Regions from separate parts of the Homo sapiens genome. Here region 1 is linked to region 2. Evidence: promoter capture Hi-C in 16 types of primary human blood cells and fetal thymus (Javierre and others, 2016). All regions are on one chromosome and are shown on one strand. The core of a region is centred on a gene start or on the middle of the fragment in contact, and the rest is flanking DNA. Distances in the headings are between cores, read along the strand shown.

What was found. Contacts are between HindIII fragments. The CHiCAGO score rates a contact against its expected background, and 5 or more counts as called.
Region 1: a contact is called between a fragment that was not itself captured here and the fragment with the promoter of LINC01277 in region 2, in 3 of 17 cell types (total B cells, naive B cells and neutrophils). The highest score is 5.6, in total B cells.

Annotation. Positions count from the first base shown.
Region 1 is chr6:142,788,284-142,794,719 of GRCh38, forward strand. The region is part of intron 2 of HIVEP2 (HIVEP zinc finger 2); the gene reads right to left. Among named protein-coding and RNA genes, the nearest start is that of HIVEP2, 150 kb to the right of the region's middle. The HindIII fragment of the contact is 7,164 bases long and covers 1-6,436 here.
Region 2 is chr6:143,035,171-143,040,956 of GRCh38, forward strand. LINC01277 (long intergenic non-protein coding RNA 1277) reads right to left here and starts at 2,412. Exons shown (of 3, transcript NR_038987.1): 1 at 1,819-2,412. RefSeq lists an enhancer at 4,670-4,739. The HindIII fragment of the contact is 5,129 bases long and covers 1-4,711 here.

The DNA of each region.
Region 1 (6,436 bases), core at 1,775-4,274, 250 kb before region 2:
GTACCCTAAAACTTAAAGTATAATAAAAAAAAATCCCCCCCTCAAAAAAAAGACATTTACTGAATGCCTACGATATGCCAGAAATGGGCTGTATTTACACAATACAGAAAAAGAAAAGACAAGCATTGCATTTAAGAGCACAGAGCTGGCTGGGTATGGTGGCTCACACCTGTAATCCCAGCACTTTGGGAGGCCCAGGCGGGCAGCTCACTTGAGGTCACGACTTCAAGACCAGCCTAGCCAACATGGTGAAACCCTGTTTCTACTAAAAATACAAAAATTAGCCGGGTGTGGTGGCTGGAACCTGTAATCCCAACTACTCAGGAGGCTGAGGCAGGAAAATCTCTTGAACCCGGGAAGCAGAGGTTGCAGTGAGCCAAGATCACACCACTGCACTCCAGTCTGGGTAACAGAGCAAGACTCCATCTCGAAAAACAACAACAACAAACAAACAAACAAAACAAACAAACAAACGAAGAGCTCAGAGCTTCAGCGGGGAGATATTTGTGAATTAGTTCAACAAATGACATAAATATAAACAGATTACAAAGGAGATTACAAGAGGGAATGGTCACTCCTTTCTGGAAAGTTAGAAAAGGCTTTCTAGATGTAACGACACTGAACTTAATATTTAAATAAAACTATATATGCTAATATACAGAAATGCACAGTTATCAATGTTAGATTTAGAGACAAATACATTTGTCAGATGAAATAAAAATACAAGACTCTACCATTCCGGTTTCTCTATGATTATATATACTTTATTTTGTGTGATGGAATGTTGGTTCATGAGGATGCTTGGGGAATAAGGTGTTCTAGTTAATACAATCTTATGGTTAGGTAAAGACCACAGAGAAAATCATTTTTTGTTAAACATCTGGTGGTAATTTATTTTCAAAAGTACACTAGCTTTTGCCTTGAGTTAATTACAGTCTACTAACCATAATTTAATCTTCCTTTGATGGTTCAGGATCATATAGTGTTCTCCAGTCATTCTGCATCTTGGCTGTGCTCATCTGGTATTGGCCATGCAAACTTCTCCCAACATGTGTCCTTAAAACACACGTCATGTTTTCTAAGATAAGAGCTATAACCTAGGTTTGTTTTCTTGACCCAATTTGACATCACGTAAGTCATATATCTGACTAACTTGATTTTAGGAGCAAATATATGACTACAAACTTCTATTACTATTTAAATGTTTAGCTTATTCTAAATCATATAGGCAGTGTTTAGGGCTATGGAATAATTTAGAAACCATTGAATTTAATCTATCAGGCAACTAACAAATGAAAAAGGTGAGAACCAGAGAAGTCAAAAGACTTGCTTAGGGACCCACAGCTCATTATGATAGTTCTGGTCTACAGCTTAGGTCTTTAAACTGTCAAGTCAATTATTTTCCATTATCCACACTACTTCCTCTTATTCAAAGTTTATTTATCTAACCCTATTTCAGAAATTGATTGAATGAGTAAAGAAGTAAAAAATGAAGAATTAATAATTTTGAAATTCAAATGAGCAAAGATATTTATAATCCATAATCAAAGAAACAGAAAATAACAGTAGTTAAGGATCAATGCTCCACTGAAATGTTTATCAATTTTTATACTAAATAAAAATAAATGCAACAAAAATTTTAATTTTTCCAAAATGAGTAAATGACAGAAAAATTAGAAGATAATCAATTTCCATAAGCAGTGCATTATTTAGTATCCAAAGCAAAAATAATTACTTAATTTACAACCAATTTTCAGTATAAGCTATTTTCTAAGATTTTTATGCTCTTATAACGAAAATTTTTCAGTAAATATTTTAAGTAGAGTTATGAGACCATCTTCCTAAAAGCAAAGATAGCTCTTTCATTGAAAGTCAATGGAGGCAAGCCCCTTGTTCATAATACCAAAATTTCACCTAGGAGACCTGTGAAGACATGGTAACACCAACTCCACAGGCACTACTTCTTCTGCTGCATTGGTTTTGCAAAAGGGCAGAGCCAAGTAGATGTTTTGTATAATTAAAAATCTTTTTTTGCTCTCTCTTTTGTGATACATTTTCCCATTTTTATTTTTTTCCTTCCCTTCCATTTCCTCTATCTTATCCCTTAATATGGTAGGTAAATAACTACTTCTAGCCAAGCCAGCTTAAACATTTACTCTTTAACTAAATATTTGGAGAGACAGGGATAAAAGCAAAAAAGGTGTATTTGACTACCATACTCTAGTGAGAAGTATATATGACACAACAAAGTCATAACTCCAATGTACTGTTTTCTCAAGTTTTATCTTTTACAATGCTTATGTTTACTATTCGGTTGCTGCAGATATACATAAATAAGGTCATGATTCTCCAATTTTCTTTTTACTCCTGGGTATGCCAAGACTAGCATAAAGAAAGGCCGCAGTTAACTTTGAATTAAGTAAACAAAGAGAACAGAGAAATCAAATCATAAAATATGCATTATATTCATAAGTATTCATATAACAGGCTGACCTTGCCTGAAGAAAATCCATCTTTGAGGGAAGATCCTCCTGCATCAGTGGAAATAATACCCAAAGCAATGAAAGCACAGCTGAAAATATGAATTGCATCCCACATTTCATGCTACAAACAATTCTCAGATGTGATGAAAAATAAAATTGTCTTCAGTCTCTCGTAGGTCTACACACAATAAAAATCTCTCAAAAAGAAATCAAGGCAAAGCCTATGACATATCATATAACCTAATCAGACAGACCCTATCTACTTCTAATAACTGAGCTGCTGAAAGAATCAATTCTATTTCCTCTCTTGACAATTTTCCTAGAGAGTGGGGAAATTGGTCTGTGTGCCTGTGTAGAGATATACAACCTCAGGAAACCAAAGAACAAATCTGGACTCACACTGTCCCAGGTTCTATAAGGTACATAGGGTAAGTGGATACTATCTCTCAAGACTTCAGAAATTGACATGAGGTTAGCACACAGCAAATAACCTGAACATCAGTTGTTCTCAGAGATTAGGAACCATATGATCAAAAATGGCTTGAACAACCAGGAAAGACTAGACAGAGGGAAGGGGCTCAAGTGGAAGCCATGATTTGCACAAATGAATTAACTAGATAAAGATTTATTATTAACCTGTGCTACATGGTTATTCAGGTACCTCCTTGACATTTTGACAAACTGTGAATGGCATTCATACTTTTGGTCTCATCTCAGAATATATCATTGCCTACAAAGTTTAAGGCTAAAAAAATTCAAGTTTCAAGCAGGCATTTATAAGATCCTATTGGGCAAATTCTGTCAGGCAATTCCAGAATTCCATCTGCAGGCTCATTCATTCAGTCAAATTACATTTTTTCCAAAGCTCATATATACTAATGTGATGAAATAAAACATTACTAAAATGCAAACTTCATATTTCTTTGAGTTTGAATCCAGATATTACTGCCTCATTTACCAAAAAATCCCCAAATACATATAAATTTAAATCAATTTCAATGACACCAAGTAAGAATTAAAAATAGTGTGCATGTGTAGGATCAAGACAAATGAGAGAACATTCTGCTTTCAAAGAGCTTACTGTCTAATGAGTAAGGAAAACATATGAACAACGAGCTATAAAAGCAATAGAGGCATGAAATGGTGTTGTGAGTATATGAAGACAGGAGATTGCTTAGAAATGCTGCATTTAAGGAACTCTATCTTAGATTTTGAAAGAAGGCTCAGATTTGCAGGCAGAGATGCATTTAATGTGAGGTTATTATCGTGACATAGACAAGAGAAGGGGTATTGGAGAAACAGTCTGTCTGCCTAGAACATTAGGCACACTGAGGTGATGGTGGTGGCAGAAGGTAAAGAACTTTAGTTGGCAGACACAGAGAGACATCAGTGGTTCTGAGAAGACAACTGCCACAGTCACAGAGACACTTTAGAAAGCTATTATATCCCATTTCTTTCCATCCCTTTCGGGCAAACTCTGCAAATGTATAGCCTGAAAAAGAATAAAGATTAAGAAGAAGTTTGTTTTAAGGCAAGGAGACTTGGAGCAAAGGAGGAAAAGATACAAGTAATAAGATAATGGAATAAACTCTTTAAAAAGTGGGATACTATGCAGCCATAAAAAAGAATGAGTTCATGTCCTTTGCAAGGACATGGATGAAGCTGGAAGCCATCATTCTCAGCAAACTAACAGGGGAACAGAAAAACACGGCATGTTCTCACTCATAAGTGGGAGCTGAACAATGAGAACACACGGACACAGGAAGGGGAACATCACACACCGGGGCCTGTCGGGTGGTGGAGGACAAGGGGAGGGAGAGCATTAGGACAAATACCTAAGCATGCGGGGCTTAAAACCTAGATGGCAGGTTGATAGGCGCAGCAAACAACCATGGCACATGCATACCTATGTAACAAACCTGAACATTCTGCACATGTATCCCAGAATTTAAAATAAAATAAAATAAAACTAATAAATAAATAAATGAATATTTCATTAAAGAATGAATAAAAGAAAGTGGGAACCAAAAAGGAACTCAAAAGCATAAATAAGGAATCTGTCAGAAGAAAGCATGAAAATTTTTCTGTTTTAGAATGGAGGGAAGGAAGATATAATGAAGCAAGATAACTTTTCAGATAGAAAAGAAACTGAGGAGTCCCTTCTTAATATCTCAGAAAAGTAGAAGGTGAGGTCTGCTGATGGGAGCAGGGAACTAGCTGTGCTAGAGGGGCTTGATGAGTGGGGAACAGTCAATTTGCCTTAAGTATTAGTACTTGCAGCAGTCTTAGGAAAAACACTACTTCTTATTAGGCCATTTAAAAAGAGTATTTTCCAAACTTTTTTCTGAGTCAATAACCATATCCAAATAATTTAATAATATATCCAAAAGTTTATCTTTTATTCTAAAATAAAACTCTTAAGATGATTAACTATAAGCTATTATGTATGAACAGTAGATTTAAGACTGTTATATTTTTTAAAAACTGTATATATCTCTCATAATTCTACATAACTACCTAGAGTAGAAAATTGTGATACTCATGCTGTGCTTCATTGTATAGAAATTTAGGGAATATTTACTGATGACTTGAATATTTACTTTTTAGCATCATTAGTGACTGAGGTGATTCTTTTCAGTGAATTAACCAATAATTTAACAAAGGAAATTGATGACGATATTCTATGCCACATTTCTTTTCCGATACCATGATTACCAAAATATGTATTGCTTGATACTATGGGCAGAGTAAGGTGTCAATTCTAGTATATTTAGCAATTAAAAAGGAACTCCATGTTTTATAATTTATTAATTTCTTTCTTTCTACCTCCCCCCTCCCACCTCCCATCCTTCCTTCTCTTTCTTTCTTTCTTTCTTTCTTTCTTTCTTTCTTTTTTCTTTCTTTCTTTCTCTCTCTCTCTCTCTCTCTCTCTGTCTGTCTTTCTTTCCTTCTTTCTTTCAGACAGGGTCCAGCTCTGTCACACCCAGGCTAAAGTGCCTCCCTCTGCCTTCTGCCTCAGCCTTTCAAGTAGCTGGGACTATAGGTGCCCACCACCATATCTGGCAAATTTTTGCATTTTTTGTAGCGACAGGGTTTTGCCATGTTGCCCAAGCTGGTCTCAAACTCCCGGGCTTAAGCGATCTGCCTGCCTTGGTCTCCCAAAGTGTTGGGATTACAGGTGTGAGCCACTGTGACTAGCCCTCATGGTTTATAATTTCTAACTGTCTACTTAAAATGAAGTGATATGGGAGAAATTTATCTGGACTCAAAATCAGGAAGAATTTTATTTTTATTTAAAATTAGCTTTATAGACACTACATTTTAAGCCTATTCTATTCCCTCTTTGGGCTGACTGATAGAAAGCTAAGATCTAAATCTGTGGCCATCTTATAGGAAGGATCTAGACATTCTAGGCATGTGTTTTGGTCACTAACATCACTTCTAGCTTCAAGTACTATTTCTACTTTTCTTTCCCATTGTCTCATACTGATAATTAACAATATGTACACAAACAAACACACAGATCTCAATAATGGGGACTATTAAATAAGGCAATAAATGTAACTAGGAACTGTTTCCAAAGTTGAATCTATTTGTATATTTCAATAGTTTGAGCAACACAACTGTGAAGACTAATTAGTTCCAGCTCTGTGAAAAATGACAGAAGCTCTCTGAATATGTGCCTTTTCCTTAGCCTTCAACTGTATTGATTCCAAGAGAAGAAGAGCTTTCGTAAATATAACAGAAAAGGTACATATAACATAACTGGATAGGAGCACTAATTATTTTTGCTTCTCTAAGGAACTGCTTAAGAATAATATGGAAATAATATGGTCAAATTATATTATCTTTGAGCTATGGTCAAATTTCCAGCTACTGTCAAAGCTCAGCAGCAGACAAGGCAAATGCATCTGACATATTCTTGGACATGGATAACTTACACCGGCAGATCC
Region 2 (5,786 bases), core at 1,162-3,661:
ATGAGCATAAAACCACCTACTCAAGCCTCAGCAATGGTGGATGCCCCTCCCCCTGCCAAACTCCAGCGTCCCAGGTCAATTTCAGACTGCTGCCCTTGCAGTGAGAATTTCAAGCCAATGGATCTTAGCTTGCTGGACTCCATGGGCATGGGACCCACTGAGCGAGCCACTGGAGGGAATCTCCTGGTCTGCCAGTTGTGAAGACCATGGGAAAAGCGCAGTATTTGGGCAGAAGCGTACTGTTCCTCCTGGCACAGTCTCTCATGGCTTCCCTTGGCTAGGGAAGGGAAATCCCCTGACACCTTGTGCTTCCCAGGTGAGGCGACGCCCCACCCTCCTTCGGCTAGCCCTCTGTGGGATGCACCCACTGTCCAACCAGTCTCAATGAGATGAACCAGATACCTCAGTTGGAAATGAAGAAATCACCCATCTTCTGCATCGATCTCACTGGGAGCTGCAGACCGGAGTTCCTACTAGGCCATCTTGGAAGAGTCCCTGGTTTTTCTTCTTGTGCTCCCATGTCCTCTTATTTATCACTTTAATGTGATTATTTTTGGTATTTCATTATTAAGTATTATATTGGCTTTGGATTTCTAAAAAATACTTGTTACCAAGTTAAGAAAGTCTGCTTTTCCCTTGGCACACCAGGAATTTTAATCAAAAGTAACGTTAACATTTATAAAATGTCCTTTAGCATCTACCAAGATTACATTAGCATATTTCCTAAATTTGAACAATTTTTGTACTCTTGAATAAATTTGATCAGGTAAAGTGTATTGCTCTTTTAGTATACTGTTGGATTTGATATTTCATAACAGACTTTTTATTTGTGCTTATTAGATAGATTGGCCCATGGTTTTGTGACATATTTATCAGGTTTATTGTATCAAAGTTATGATTTCTATAGCTTTGTAACAATTAAGTACTACAGAACTTAACTATTCGTCAGTATTTGGTAAAAATTTCTGAGAAAATGAACATGGCCCAGAGCCATTTTACAGTATTTTTTTTACAAAAGTTTCAACTTTTCTATGGATATTGATCTATTTTGGCTTCCTATATTTTATTCAGGCAAATTGGTTGTTTGTAGTTTCCTTAAAAATATCTATTTTAAAATTTTATACTCAGAAAAGTACAAAAATTTTATTTAAAAATTATAATTTCCTTTGGTTATACCTTTTCTGTTTTCTAATATTGTATTTGTGTTCTCTTAGGTTTCCTTTGGCTAGACTTGCTAGGGATTGATTGGTTTGTTTTGTTTTTATAACTTTTCAAATACAAGATCACTGTTTTTATCAATAAATTGTAATGTTTGGCTTTCTCATGTTTAAGTCATTGCTTTTACATTCTTTTACTTTCTTTTGATTTATTTTCTTCTTTTTAATTTCCTGAGTTATACATTTATGTTATTTTAAACAAAATTTTTCATAAGGTAAGATTTGGTTACAATTCACAAGATTATATTATGTTATCAGGATTCTTTTTTCCTCTTTGATACAAGAGTTATCTAGAAGACTATTTTTATTTCCAGGTGATTTTTAGAAATGCTTTATTTTGATGCTGATGTCAGTATTTATTGCATGGAGTCAAACATATATTTCCTATACAAAATTATTCATTTTCAAATATATTTCTAATTATACAAGTAGCACATGAATACATTTTTATTGTGAAAGATTTATATAATGTAGACAAAACTATTTCCTCTAACCCCATCTCTAGTGGCAACATTAGTTACTGGCTTATTGTATATCATTTCAGTCTCTTTTCTATTCATCTGTGTCCTCTCACCAGGAACTGGTACCATCCTGTACTTACTGTATGTAGCACACTGATCCATACATGCATAGGCATTGCTCCCACCTGCAGGCTGCTGCCTAGCTTGTGGCTAATACGGGGATATAGAGAAGCCAATTCATCTGGTTGCTCCTGCTGAAGTACACCAACTAATCACCTTCTTGATTACTTCTGATGCACTCCTGCTCATTGTATCTGCCAACCCAGAGCATGAAGTAACTCTTTTATAGAAGTTTTTCCTGCATGCAGTTTGACCATACATTTCTCCTTCAAGTGATTGTGTTTTCATCTTTCAGTTATTCAACATAATTTTGTGTAGTCAGTATTCATTTACAGTTACCAACACATTTACCCATCCAGTATTCTTCATTCCCTCCTTGAATTTCCATCTTTTCAAATGAGATCATTTTTACTTTTGCTAGTAGAAATCCCTTCAGCATTTCAGTGTAAAACTCCTAGCAATAAATTATGTGAATTTTTGTTTTTTGTTTACTTTTTGCTTCTTTTTGTTGCTTGTTTGTTTGAAAATGTCATCATTTAACGTTCATTTCTGAAGATTGTTTTTCACACGTTGGCCTTTAGTTTCTTTCAGTACTCTAGAGATAGCATTCCATTATCTTCTGGCTTCTATTGTTGCTATTAGAGACAGCTGCCAGTCTCATTGTTGCTCTTTTGTAGATAATGTGTCTTTTTTCTTCTGGCTGGTTTTTCCATCTTCTCTGTCTTTGGTTCAGCAGTTTTATTGTGAGTTGCATAATTGTGGTTTTCTCTATACTTATCCTGCTTGAGGGTTTGCTGAGCTTCTTAACCAGTGGGTTAAATGTATTTTATCTGCTTTAGAAAATTCCCAACCATTATCCCTTTGAATATTGCTTCTGCTCTATTTCTTTCTCCTTGCCCTCTGAAACTTCAGTTTTACATGGTAGACCTTTCATACTTGTCCTGTATGTCTCTTACATTTGTTTCTTATTTTTTCTCTTTCTTTTTTTCTTCCATGCTTCACTTTGTATATTTTTCATTGATATGTTTCCAGTTCACAAGTCTTGTATTCAATAGTGTCCAACCTATTGTTAAACTCATATATTGAGTTTTTAAATTTAATTTTGAAATAATTTACTTTGAAATATTTTTATCAGAAAAGTTGCAAGAACAGTAGAATGAACTCCCACATTCTCTTCATCCAGATTCCTCAGTTAATAGTTTCATATTTTCTCCATCTCTTTTTGTAAAGATGATAGATAGATAGATAGATAGATAGATAGATAGATAGATAGATAGATGTGTATTTTCAAGGATATGATACCTTTTTTGAATATTTTGAGAGCAAGTTAAGCAAGTTGAAACCTTTATGTCCTATCATCTGTAAATATTCCTATTACTACTTCTCCCAAAGACACTCTCCTACAGAGTAATTGCCAAGCCTTTCAAATCAGAAAATGGACAGCGATAAATACCAGCATTCAAACCACAGTTCATTATTATCCAACGTTCCAGGCTTATCTTGAAATTTCTCTACCTCCATCCTTGAATCATCCACTTTTACAAGGAGTCCTTGTTGTTTGTTATGGAAATTGGAACCTACATACTTGTTATTAATTGCTACTGGGGTGTCATTGCACCTAGGTCCTCTCCATGGTCAGAATTTTGAAATATATGTATGTATTCATGGATATGTACACAGACATATTCACTTGCATTGATAATTTTTTTTGTTTCTTTCCTCCCTTCCCTTTCACTCTTTCCTTCTTTCCTTCCTTTTGCTCTTTCCTTCCTTCCTTCTTCCTTCTTACCATAACAATAGCAATGAGTTATTTTTTTCGCTTCCCCTTTTCATATTTGTAAATTTGTTTTCCCACAGAGAGAAATCCAGCTTCCATTAGCTTCAATATAGATACTTTCTTGATCAATCCTCCTTTACATAATTAATTTCCTAAAAATGCTAGGTACTGCCATGGCCAACTCATCACTCCTGATTTCATCTCCAGGCAAGTTGTCACTTTTGAACTCTTCTCCCCACCAAACCCTGGTCTGTTTGATATGCCACTGCCTCCATGCCCCTGTCTCCACCTTCTGGCTGTTAGACACATTGTTAACTGTGCACCCCAACTTACTCTTACCTTCACCTCCCTGGTGCTTCTTCTGCTGAGCATACAACTGCCACCATATGTACCCCCTATACATGCTTCCTTGGACACCAGGCACTCTGCTGCCTCCACATGGCTTTCCCATTATGACTTCTTTTGCCCCTATGCACATCACTATCTGTATGCCCGCCACCCTACTTTCTTGGCTGTTGGACACACTGCTATCTCTACTGATCCTTTCCACTGCAGTTTTCTCCATATATTGATTTCTTAACTGACGATAGTATATTTTTTCAAATTTAGAATGCCTAAAGAAATCTTTTTTATAGGTTAGTTTTACTGAAAATTGTCCATTTCCTCATCAATTTTGCACTTTATTTTCTTAAACATATTCATAAAAATTATTTGTAAATTCTCATTTGCTGATTACAATATCTTGATCATCTATAATTGTGTTTCTATTGTGTGTGTTTTTTTCTCTTGATTATTGGGCAAATGAACTTGATCTTCCACATCTAGTAATTTAAAAAATGTTAGACATTATGTATAATAAAACCATAAAGGGTCCAGATGATATTGCCTTCCACCGAAAGTGTTCCCTTTTTCTTCTGTTGGGCAGGTAGAATAGCCTTTGATCACCTCAATCGAGTCAGAGATTATTCTGAATCAGAAGCTGGTTTCAGTTTTGCTAAGTGTACCTCCGATTCACTTCTGTTCTTAGGGTGTAGCCCTCCAGGGCTTTCAATTGAGAGCCTGGTGGATCTCTGTCTTCCAGCCCTAAAAGATAACAGCAAGTTTTCAGTTTAGCTCTTTAACCTCCTGCTCCATAAAGCTTCAAAATTCAGCAACTCGCTTGAAAGGAAGACTGGCAATGTGTTTGGGACACTCTATAGTCTTCTGTGAAGAATAGAGATCTCTTTTGTTGTTTTCTTTGAGGGACAGCCTGTAGCTTTGCTCAGAATCTGTAAATATTCCCATCAAAAAACCACCTGTAAATTACCAATGTCAATTCCCTACTCCCTCTTATGTTTTTATATTTTACTTCTTTTGTTTTGGGGCTCCTCTTTTCCATAGCAGTTCGTTGATTCTCTAGCACCATGACACTGTGGGGGACTTCACTTTGCATTTCAGAAGTTTGGGGACTACTGTTTTAGCCTCCATACAGTCTCAGAATTCAGTTAATGTCTTAATCATGTATTTAGGGTTTCTCACACCTTCAGTGAGTCACCAAAGCCCCATATAACTGCTAAAAGTTTTGTTAGTTTAACTTTTTTCCGCAGCTGCATCTTTCTGCCTGGACTCAGCCTCATCCTTAGCCTGCACTCCAACCTGGCAATTTTGCCAAGAGGAAAAAATTGTGGACATCATCAAGTCATTACTGGAAAGTTCTCACTTCTCTGGAATTTTAATCCATTTAGTTCTTGTTTTTAAAACCCTCTGATTCCTTTATAAATATATAATTTACCTAGGTTTTTCTCGTTGTTAGTCCAAGTGTTGGCCTGCCACACTGACTATATCCTTTCTGGAAATAGAAATTCTCTCTGTTGCCCTTAATGAATTTAAAAAAATATTTTATACCACTTTATTGTTTATTCTTAGTCCAAAACATGTTTTCTACCATTGTTGGAAGCAGAAGTTCTGGAATTGGTTTCTATATATTTTCAGATCCCGTAAAAATGAATTAAGGTGAATTTGATTAATGTAAATTAGATTTATGTGAATAAAGGATAAATAGTTAAGTTCATCATTGTTGCAATTAGAGAAGTGGTACAGGTTCCCCATTCTAGCACTGAGTATTTGAAATCATACCTCTGCTAAGATCCTGCAAATATTTCAGCTCACTCCCTGTGTGCATTGACACATATTATCAGCCCTCTCTTTTCTTATATTAAACAGGGCCACAAG